2 separate regions of the Homo sapiens genome follow, and region 1 is linked to region 2. The links are contacts of gene promoters, found by promoter capture Hi-C in blood cells and fetal thymus (Javierre and others, 2016). All regions are on one chromosome and are shown on one strand. The core of a region is centred on a gene start or on the middle of the fragment in contact, and the rest is flanking DNA. Distances in the headings are between cores, read along the strand shown. Region 1 overlaps PRKG1 (protein kinase cGMP-dependent 1). Region 2 holds the start of TFAM (transcription factor A, mitochondrial).

Region 1 (5,691 bases), core at 2,389-4,888, 6.7 Mb after region 2:
AGAGCTTGCAGTGAGCCAAGATTGCACCACTGCACTCCAGCCTGGGTGACAGAGCGAGACTCCATCTCAAAAAAAATTAAAAAGGTCAGCTTAGGAAGCAAAGTTCTCAAATAACATAATTAACACAGCTAGTCACTGACCAGCCCAAAAGGGGAATTGTAAGTCTTTCACGTCTTTAAAAAAGAAAACCCCACTGGCTGGGCGCAGTGGCTCATACCTGTAATCACAGCACCTTCGGGAGGCCGAGATGGGAGGCTTGCTTGAGGCCACGAGTTCGAGACCCTGGCTAACATAGGGAGACCCCCATCTCTATTAACAAAAAGGAAAATTAAATAAAAATATTTCCCGCCCCCCCCAAAACAGGACGATATATCATGGCATCAACAGGCACATTGACTCTACTGTCCCCGGTTAGCAAGTTATCATGCTTCACTTTTGAGAAGAAACTGATAGCATCATTTGCTTAAAGCACAATGATATTTAAATTTAATCGTAGTCATTTAAGTAATAAACTTGGTTCTATGTTTACTTATGTGGTACTTAAATTTGTTCTCAAGAAATTACGCTTTAAGGTTAACGTTTAAGAACTCTGGTCGTGAAAGGACCATTAGCTGCTCAATGAATCAATGGCCTGGCAACAATGTACTATCCATAGAGCAGGCTTGCCTGAAGCTTCTGCTTCTAGATGAAGGGGTGTGTGAGGAGCTGTTAGTGTTATGCTGACTTTGAGTGGAATGCCACTATAAATCATAATCCCTATCTTCAGTATGTACAGGTAGATAGAATTCGGGGACAGTGCTTTTCTCAGTAATAAAGAAAAAAAAAATCTTTCATCTTGAACCTCAGAAAGAGGGTCAATGGATGAACAGCAGTTACATTTTCATTTTCTATATACCTCTCAGGAAATCAAACAAATCAAAAAATGCATTTGGAAGCTGTCTGCTCAAATCGTCTATTCTCTATCTTGTCTGACAGAAGGGAAACTCCTTGCAGGCACAGCTGTTCTGCCAGAGACTCAAATCTGAGCACCATAAATCCTCAGTGTAAGTTCAAGAGAAAGGCTAATGATAAAGTTTCCTGTGAAAGTACTACTGAAAAGAGAAGTCACATTTTCGTTCACATTTAAACTCCCATATTGTTCAACTGTGTGCCTACCTTCCACAGAGTATATACTCAGTATTTATAAAATACATGCTGATATATATAAAATTCAACATTTAGTTGAATAATGAGTATCCTAGCTTTAGTATCCTAAAGCATTGTCAAACCCTTGCTGCTACGAAATGTGTCAGGTAAGTTTCCTTCCTGGTGGGGATGCAAACACTTTCCTTCCCTCCCTCATCTCTGCCTCCCCATTTGCAGACACCTGCTGTCAGGAGGATTTCCCAGAACCTCTCCTCCCTGTGGAAGTCCTGCTGATAAGAATGAAGACCTGCAACTATTACCCAGTCCTGGGACCTTGGCAGCAAACTCCAGACCACTTGGCAGCAAACTCCAGACCACTACATGGGCAGAAAAATGTTGGCACTTTCTTTATTCTCCCTGCAGGCATCAGCTTCTCTTTCCTAGACCCCTCAAGGGCTATGGACCAACACAGGCAATTCCATTTTCAAGGCTAACAAAAGGCTGAGCTCTAGAGGAATAGGTCATTTGCACTTCCCTGTTTTCCTGCAGGCACTTGTTTTGTTCCCCAGAGCCAGGATGGAATTGACAAACACCTGGAGGCCAGAGAGAAAAGTTTCTCATTGTACTGCTCTGCAAGAACGTATACACAGCTATTTCAGCATAAATGTCAGATGATAGTGATAAAGATGATAATAACTGAAAGAATTGTTGCTATGATTTTGTCATTAAACTGTCAAGAAAAATGGTCAATATTTTTATATGAAGGATGGAAGAGTTTGATATTTTAAAAGTACAGTGTATTCACCTTCAAGAAGATCACGCATTATATATGGTGGGAACTTTCTAAAAACTGTGAATTGGTGGCTAAACATTCCTCTACTGTTTTATATTAGACCATTTTTCTAACTGGAAGTCCACATTTAAACATTTCTAAGAAAATGATCTATTTTTGGAAATAATGTTTTATGTTTTGTAGAGATTGAGAGAATGATTTAGAGGAAGGTTGTGGACAAACTTTCTCTGGCAGAATGTGCATTGGAAATGGCTGTCTAGCTCAAAACAGCCCTTTTAACTGCTCCCTTCCTTCATAAGAGTAGGTCACCAAAGTATTTTTGGAATTCATGGTCAACCAGGATAGACATTCAGCAGTAACCAGTATGGCTACACCAGTGGTACAGGATGATAGATGCTCCCTCAAGCCCCTCAAGTCAGTCTCCTGACCTCTCCATGACCTGGAAGGTAAAGGAGGTTAACAACTGGCACCGCAAAGGTCTGTAGGCTTCCTCCTGCTCCAGCTGACTACCCGGCCCCAGCAGACATAGACTAGTAAATGGTCTCACTATCACTCTGGCTCCAACCTCTTAACAATGCTGAATTGAATCACAGATACACACCAGAATAAAGCTGGACCTTCAGATTCCCAGTTCCAGAAAACTGGAATGACAATGGACTAGAGAGAGAAATAGGAGATCTGATCCTTCAACAGAGGAAAACCACCACAAATGTACAAAGAGATGCAGCGAAGAGGGAGTGAGGAAGGGAGTGGGAGACAAAGATTTTGAGAGAGAGAGAAAGAGATGGGAATAGAGTATTCTGAATGCCAACAATTACCCATTTTTTCTTTTCCTAGAGGTTACTGCATTACTGCTTGTTACGGAGTCAATTATGTCCCTCAAAATTCATATGTTGAAGCCCTAGCCCACAATGTGACTGTATTTAGAGACAGAGCCTCTAAAGAGATAATTATAATTAAATGAGGTCATACGTGTGGACCCCTCATCTAATACAATGGGTGTTCCTACAGGAAAAGGAAGAGACACCAGAGTGCATGCACACAGCAGGTGACGCGAGGACACTGAGGAGGCAGCCATTTGCAAGCCAAGGAGAGAGGATCAGGAAAAACCTAACCTACTTGCACCTTGATTTTGAACTTCCAGCATGTAGGACTGTAAGAAAATAAATTTCTGTTTAAGTCTGTGGTATTCTAATACAGCAGCCTAGCAGATTAATTTCTGTGGGTTCTGAGAGATAACAAAATGTCATGAAAATAACCACCACTTCCTTTGCTTACCTTGGTTGGAATTGGTTTCTGTACGTGTACCATAAAATGCTAGCTACTACATTCCTATAAACATTAGATTTTAGGTTTTCTAATTTCTAACTCAAGAATCCAGAGTTAGAAGGTAAATTTAAACTGGAATTCTTGACATAATGTTTTTCAAGGATCATTCAACTGTGATAATGAATCTAAAATATATTCTGTTAAACTGACATTTGTTGTTTTCAACAGTCTGAGCCTGGAATCAAATGTTTTCAGAAAGGCCTCTTTCCTGTAACTTGGTACAAATATAGGCACATTCTCAGACCAACCTAGCCTCAGAAGAGATATACTAGCCAAATTTCTGAAGTGAGTGGCAGTTTACACATTTCTCTGAAGTGAGGTGTTGTATTGTTCCGGTCACAGGAAAAAAAAAAAAGATTCATGCGTTGTTCCACTTAAATAGGGTATCTTTATTCAGACCTAGTTACAGGGCTTGTACTTTTCCACAGTTTATGAGGATACTTCTGCGTTCCTTCGGGTGACAGCCTGAAGCACGAATAAGGGAGCTCTGCTTCTTGTCTAATTAGCTATGCCTTTCTATGTTTGAATAAATGGCCTACGTCTGCCAGTGCACACTTAAAAGTAGTAGTCCTAATATCACCCTGAACAGGACTATGCGCTCGAGTAGGTACCTTGTGTGGCAGAACGATGTGGTGTTAAATAAGCCTATATCCTCCACAGTCAAAGTTCAGGCAGGCCCTTTTAATAAAAATGGACAAGTGGAATTCTAGCCGACTACATATTTGAAGAGTGCATTTCATGGTTTAGTACAAGAACCTAATGTGCACCAAGATGATCGGTAAAATTCTCATTGAAGTATTCTATGGGATCAAGCCTAAAAAGTATCCATTTCAACTACAAATCTACCAAAGGCTAAAATGGCAGTGTTAAGGTTGTACAACTTGAAAATAATATAATCTGACAAGACCATTAGTACAAGTACAAGCCTTTCAATAATAAAAATAAAGATATAGGCCCCCAAATAAATAGCATCAGACTAAAACTTGTGTCTCTTTCCACATAAGATGCTACTTCATCTACTATTACTAGATAACCAATGTAGATTAATAATGACCATACAATGTAAGGAATAATAAAAATATAAGTATATCATGTATTCCACACAATAATCCAATACAGGTGACATTACTCTCATTTAAAAGATGTGGAAATGGAACCACAGAGAGGCGAAGTAATTTGTACAATGCCACAAAATTACGTGTTGAACTAGGTAGCCAATCTAAGTCATTCTGACATTAAAATCTCTGTGCTCTTAATTCCTTCACTCTACTGCCTTTTCTAAGTGCTGAGAGTATAGTTTGGATGAGAAAAATCTGAATATCTAAATCCTTTTACAAGCTAGATCAGTAACTGGACATTTGAGCCTGGTCTAATTTCTTTCCTTTCCTGGGCGTCATTTTCTTTTCTTTATCTATTAAAAAAAAAAAAATTGGGCTGGACTTCGCAATCCCTTCCAGGGAGAACATTTGGTTCTGTTCAACCTCAAGTCCAGAAATGGCAGACTCCCAGCAGCCCCAAATTCATGTAATCTGCACTTGCCAATAACAGTGATTCATCCTGTGTATAAGTAAATGAAATTCAGGGCCAGGCATTGTGGCTCACTCCCAGCACTTTGGAAGGCCAGCGCAGGTGGAGCATTTGAGGTTAGGAGTTTGAGTACATGAAATTTGCTTTTTATTCCTCTGTACATTGTTTCATATTAAATACACTAAGCATTTTGGGAAAAAAAGTTATATACCAAATTAATTTGAGCTCTTTCATTTTATGGAAAAATGCATGCTTTAACTAACTGGATGCTTTATAAAAGTCTTTAGGTGAAGTTTAACTATAGTCCTGCAAATTGAAAAAGGAAACATTTTCTCTATTGCTTCAGTCTTTATACCTCACAGTCCATCTGTTACCACAGCACTGATTGTGATGTCACAACTGCAATTAGTTACACTCAGAGACAAACAGGAAAAATGCCAAGGGAGATGGTGCCCAGGCGTCAATAACTTGTGATTACTGTACTACTTATGAAATAGAAAGTTCAAATTCAGGAGACCTGCTTTCAGGTTGTCGTTATGCCACTTAGTAGCTATGTATCCTTAGGCAACTCATTTAATAGAACAATGATTTATGAGCTTGATTTCTTAAGCCAAATGGTTTGTGTTCAAATCCTCGTTCTGCTAGTTGACATAGGCACACTAGTTAACTTCTCTGTGCCTCTGTTCTTTACCTATAAATTGAGGAACTATGACTGCCTATCTTCAAAAGGTTGCAGAAAGAATAAAATATTATATTATATAAAGCATTTATCAAAGAGCCTTCTCCCTACTAAGTGCTCAGAGTTTGCCTTTATAAAGCATCTGTATTTTGAGTGAGTCCATTGTTAGGTAAAGTTCTACATAATAACTCTCTGAGTTTCTTCATTGTTAAAAATCAGGAAACAATTGCATGTACTT
Region 2 (5,356 bases), core at 2,857-5,356:
TCTAGTCTTTCAAAGAAATAGTTTTAACTCTGATGATCATTTGTAATAGTGTAGGTACACGACTAGCAAACTGACCACCTCAAAACTAATACTGGCTCTATGAAAAAAATGTATAACTTTCAAATGATGACATTTATGTGAATTAATACATTAAGCTGGGAACTACAAATTTTGAACCATGTGAGGTTTTTAATAGTTATTTCTTTGAAGAAAAAAAAAGAATTCCATCCTAAAGGCACTTAATTGATTAGATAAATTGGCATTTTTCCGATGTGTTAATGAATTAATGCAGTCTACTCAGCAATATTCCATATCAAACTCACCATAATCTATAGAATAATTCAAATTAATACGTTATTCTAAAGAAGACTCAGAAGCAAAGATTCTTGATACTCCTGGTTTGACTGTTTCATAACTCTGTTCCTGTAGTTTCCATTACTGTTCTACGAACTGTACACCTTAAATGTGGATACATCTGCAAGTAGCAACAAGGATTTCCAAACAGACTCAATGGCAAGTGGTCCTAGTGGCTATCTCACTTTTCATAAGAGAACTATCCCACTTCTGCCTAACTGAAGAATACTTGATGACATTCTACCATATTTTATTTGCCTATTAAGAGAAAACTACCTATATTCATAGTTATATAAATCTCAATTCTTTACCATAAGAAAAAAGTATTTCAATGATACTCACTTTTTTTTTTGTCATAGCTTTCCTTTTTAAATGTTTGTCCATGATTTCTTTTTCCAAAGACATAATCTGACTTGGAGTTAGCTGTTCTTTAAATCTGCTTATCTCTTCTTTATATACCTGCCACTCCGCCCTATAAGCATCTTGATATATCTATAAATAAAAAACCCAAGTAAGTCAACAAACCATTGCTGGCAAATTCAACATAGCACATGCCAGGGAAAGGCAACTGCATGACTTCAGACAGACAGATTTTATCACCAGGTGGAAAATGTGCTCTGGGATGAGATGTATATGGATTAAAACATACATTTTCCTTATATATACTAATCAAGGTGAGAGTTTAGTAATCAGCTTCCATTTTCAAACTACTGCCACTTCTTCACCTCCACCCCATACATCCATATTCTCATTATTTATGCAGATGAGAAGACATAAAGTTTCTTTGTAGATAACAGATTATTTTTTAAAAAGTCTGATCCATCTGGTCCTTTAAAGGACATGACAATTGCTCCTAACTGCAGAATAACTGGTCAGCAATGTTGAAAACTTATGTGCTTACTTTTTTCTTTGAATCAGGAAGTTCCCTCCAACGCTGGGCAATTCTTCTAATTAGTTCTGTAGTTTTTGCATCTATGGAATGAAATAAAAAGAAAAAAGATGCCACAATTTTACCTCTCAGGATTAATTTCTAAAGATATCCAGGAAAGCACAATCCATACCACACATAACTTAATATAATGATTTAACTTTCCTTTATCCAACTAATTTAAACGTAAGTAATTTATCCAACATTATCAAAAGTCTATTATCTAACAACTAAGGAGTATACCATATACCACCAGAAACAGTCAACAGTTTGATTACTAGGATTTTTTTTTTTTTTTGAGACAGGGTCCGTCACCCAGGCCATCACCCAGGCTGCAGTGCGGTGGTACAATCTTGGCCTAATGCAACCTCCACCTCCTGTGCTCAAGTGATTCTCCTGCCTCAGCCTCCCGAGTAGCTGGGACTACAGGTAGGCGCCATCATGTCCAGCTAATGTTAGTATTTTTTGTAGAGACGGGGTTTCGCTATGCTGCCCAGGCTGGCCTCAAACTCCTGAGTTCAAGCAATCCATCTGCCTCAGTCTCCCAAAGTGCTGGGATTACAGGCGCGAGCCACCACACCAGGCTGATTACTAGTTTAAGAAGCTGGATGATCAATTGCTTCAAGTTTTTTACTTCCCTTCCATATTTCAAGCAAAACACTTTTTCAAGTCTTTGAGGAATTCCTAAATTTATAAAAGCTAACAACAAAATACATTCTCGATCCATATAACACAGCCTCGTATTTCAATAACAGAAATATCATTTGGAAACAAGCTATTCGAAATTCAATCTGTTATTCTCCACTTCCTTCTTCATCTTAACCGGAATGATGGCGTGCAATTAATTGATTTTTAAAAATACCTGTTAGTACTAACTCTTACATTTAAAAGATGTGGGTACTTAAGCATGTCTCTGAAACTAACTCCTTACCTATAATGTGAGCTTTTTTTTAAAATTATTATTGTTTTTTGAGACAGGGTCTCGCTCTGTCACCCAGGCTGGAGTGCAGTGGAGCAGTCATGGCTCACTGCAGCCTCAACTTCCTGGGATCCAGTGATCCTCTCACCACAGCCTCCCAAGTAGCTGGGACTACAGGCACTGCGCCCCCATGCCCACCTCATTTTTGTATTTTTGGTAGAGACAGGATTTCCATGTTTCCCAGGCTGTTCTCGAACTCCTGGGCTCAAGCAATCCACCCATCTCGACCTCCCGAAGTGCTGGGATTACAGGTGTGAACCACCTCACCCAGCCTGATGTGAGCATTTTTTATTCTCGCCGAGAGGCTTTCTAGAGAGTCAACAAACATCCTACCTGGAAATGTTTTTTTTTTAGGAACCCAAGACAAGAAAGGATTTATCCTTTACAACCCACCATCCCCTTGGCAAGGTCGAGGTCTGAATCAAAGAACCAGAGTGGCTCTGAACTCCTATGATGAAAAGGTTTATCCTTTCTTATCTTGAAAGCTCTTGAAATTAGCAGTAAATTGCATAGAACTTTACAGTTCTACAGAACTTACAGTTTATGGATGCTTCCACAGAAGTTGCAACTTTATTAACAATTCCCTGAGCCAGAAAAAGGAGGAGCTAGGCAAGAGAAAATAATTCATCAGTGGTCCTCTAGACCAAAGGCAACAAGGCCCCAAATTCAGCTTTTTTATCCTCTTCCTAGGGTGCTTTCTACACTATACGTTATTTTTAAAATACCATTTACTAGTTCTCATTTATATTTAAAGCATTTCCATTTGGTATAAAATAGAACTTCCTATTTTACAGACATCAAATGATTGTTCCTGCAGTCACTGAATGCTTTAGCACTGCAATTCAACATTGGTATTTAACTGCTTAATGGCATTTTTATTACATGAGAAAAGGGTATATGCCCCAAAACTCCTTACCTGGGTTCTGAGCTTTAAATATGGGTAGTTGTTCTTTAGAAAATCGAAGGTAAGAACTTACAGGTTTCTTTGGACAACTTGCCAAGACAGATGAAAACCACCTCGGTAAATACACAAAACTACATATAAACAAAAAGAAAATAACCAGTGTCAGATGTTTAACTGTCAATATTCACATGTATATGAACACAGATCCCAAATAAGAAATGTCATCAAGATACTATGTATCCAACGCCTTCAACAAGAATGCTAGAGACTTATTAAAACCCTGTCCTAAACGGAGGGGAGCGTCTGCAGGACTGAAGTCTCAAAGCCCTTACCTCCTAGGAAGGGCAGGGAGTGAAGGAAAGCGTCTATACTCCAGCTCCTGGGCCCCGCCTCCTCAATGCCTAGATGATGGCCGGAGACTCGGCGCGAATTCGCAGAGGAGGCGGAAAGGATCCAAAGCTGGACAGTGAGGAGGGATGGGAGAAGCGAGTGGAGGGTAGCAAGAAGGTACGGCGTATTAAGAGAGTAAATAAAGGCCTGGTCTCAAGGCCACCGTCCCCTTGGCAAGGTCGCGGTCTGAATCAAAGAACCAGGGTGACTCTGAACTCCTAGGAGGGGCAGAAAGTGAAGGATAGGGTCTACATTCCAACCCCGGGACGTCCTGGGCCCTGCTGCCCCTAGGGCACAGGCAAGCGGGCCTACCTGAAGGGGGAGCGCAGTCGACTTCCACAGCCGGTGCACAGCTCTGCTCCAGACCTTCCCAGGGCACTCAGCACGCCCCACATGCTTCGGAGAAACGCCATCGCTCCGGTGGATGAGGCAGTGACCCGACCCCAATCTCGGAGAGCCTCCTGGCAATACACAACTCCAGCAATCACAACTGGAACCCGCGTGCGACCCTCCGGCGTGTGTTATCATGCCCGCCACTAGCGAGGCACTATGGGAAATCTGCTAACATCCGGTCGGTAGATGGGGGCGGGGCGGGGCGGAATTGGCGCAGGCGCGGGAGAGCGTACCCCGGTGGGCGGCCTTGCGGGGGAGGAATAAGAGCCGCGGAGATGAAGGGAAACCGCAATCCTCTAGCCTGCGGAGGGCTCTGGCTTCGAGGCGGCGCTGTTGAGCCACCTCTGTCCCCGGCCGCCCGGAGCAGTGGGTTCCTCTGCCGGGCCAGGAGGGTGATGGAGGGACCGCGGCGGCGGCCTCACCCCAACCCGGCGTTGGCCGGTGTCCGCCCGTGACGGTCACAAGGGCTGTACGTAACAGACAGTCCTGCATCCAGGACCCCGAGGTCCGATCGGCGGCTGCTGCGCGCCCAGCGGAGCGTCTCAGTTCAAGCCAGGGCTGGAGCTCGGAGTTCAGAAATAGTAACGGGAGAGGCGGGGATTCGCAAACCTAAAAATGCAGATTCCAAGGCCTTACCGCAGAGCTTAATTCCGTGTGTCTATGTGGGGCCCATTAATCTTCATTTTAGCGAGTTCCCCAGAATTTAACAAGTTCTAATGTCGGTGGTCTTGAGACCACATTTAAAGCAATATAGCTTTAGACTGTTTATTCTACCATCTACTGCAGTCTTTCAGTCTGGCCTCCAGCTTGCTTAATTTGAGCAGAGGAAACTGGCTAGTTGTCCACAGTCGCTAGTCTCAATTCTTCTAGTTCCAGTATTAACATTAACGTCTTGACTTGGGAATATTGCATTCCCTCGTTAAGATTCAGTTTCCCCCTCTGCAAACGAGGATGTTAGACTAAATCAGTTTTCCCAGCCAAAGCCCTGAGAACGTGTGACAAGTATGCCTTGAGACATTGATGTGTCAAAAATTGCTGTATAATTTTTTTATTTGTGTTATAGAAATACCATTTTCTGTATAGGCAATGGCATGAAAAAGATTAGGAAGACCTAAAGATACCTAAGGGTCCTTCCAGCCCTTAAATACCAGTTGTTTCAGAGCTAACCACCTTCTGAGACAGCCTTTCTTCTGTTGGATAGCCGTAATTGTTAGAAAATTCTTACCAGTGTCATATTGAGCTGACAGTCTATTTACCTTTCTGTAACTATGAAAACATTGGCTCTCTGGAAGTAGGACTAAGCCTACTTCTTCTTTTAAGCGGTAATAACCACTTCCCTTTTATAGACTCCCAGGGTTGAAAGGGACCTTCCAAGTCATCTGTTCAAACCTCCCATTCTGGCATGGAA

Evidence for each region. Contacts are between HindIII fragments. The CHiCAGO score rates a contact against its expected background, and 5 or more counts as called.
Region 1: a contact is called between a fragment that was not itself captured here and the fragment with the promoter of TFAM in region 2, in 1 of 17 cell types (fetal thymus). The highest score is 6.6, in fetal thymus.

What each region holds. Positions count from the first base shown.
Region 1 is chr10:51,705,501-51,711,191 of GRCh38, reverse strand. All of the region lies in intron 3 of PRKG1 (protein kinase cGMP-dependent 1), which reads right to left. Among named protein-coding and RNA genes, the nearest start is that of CSTF2T, 8.8 kb to the right of the region's middle. RefSeq lists an enhancer at 1,416-1,916. The HindIII fragment of the contact is 5,928 bases long and covers 675-5,691 here.
Region 2 is chr10:58,384,160-58,389,515 of GRCh38, reverse strand. It overlaps TFAM (transcription factor A, mitochondrial), which reads right to left and starts at 4,106. Exons shown (of 7, transcript NM_003201.3): 1 at 3,868-4,106; 2 at 3,178-3,296; 3 at 1,256-1,326; 4 at 697-846. The coding sequence starts at 3,968. RefSeq lists enhancers at 3,706-4,362, 4,556-4,655 and a silencer at 4,046-4,425. The HindIII fragment of the contact is 8,486 bases long and covers 1-5,356 here.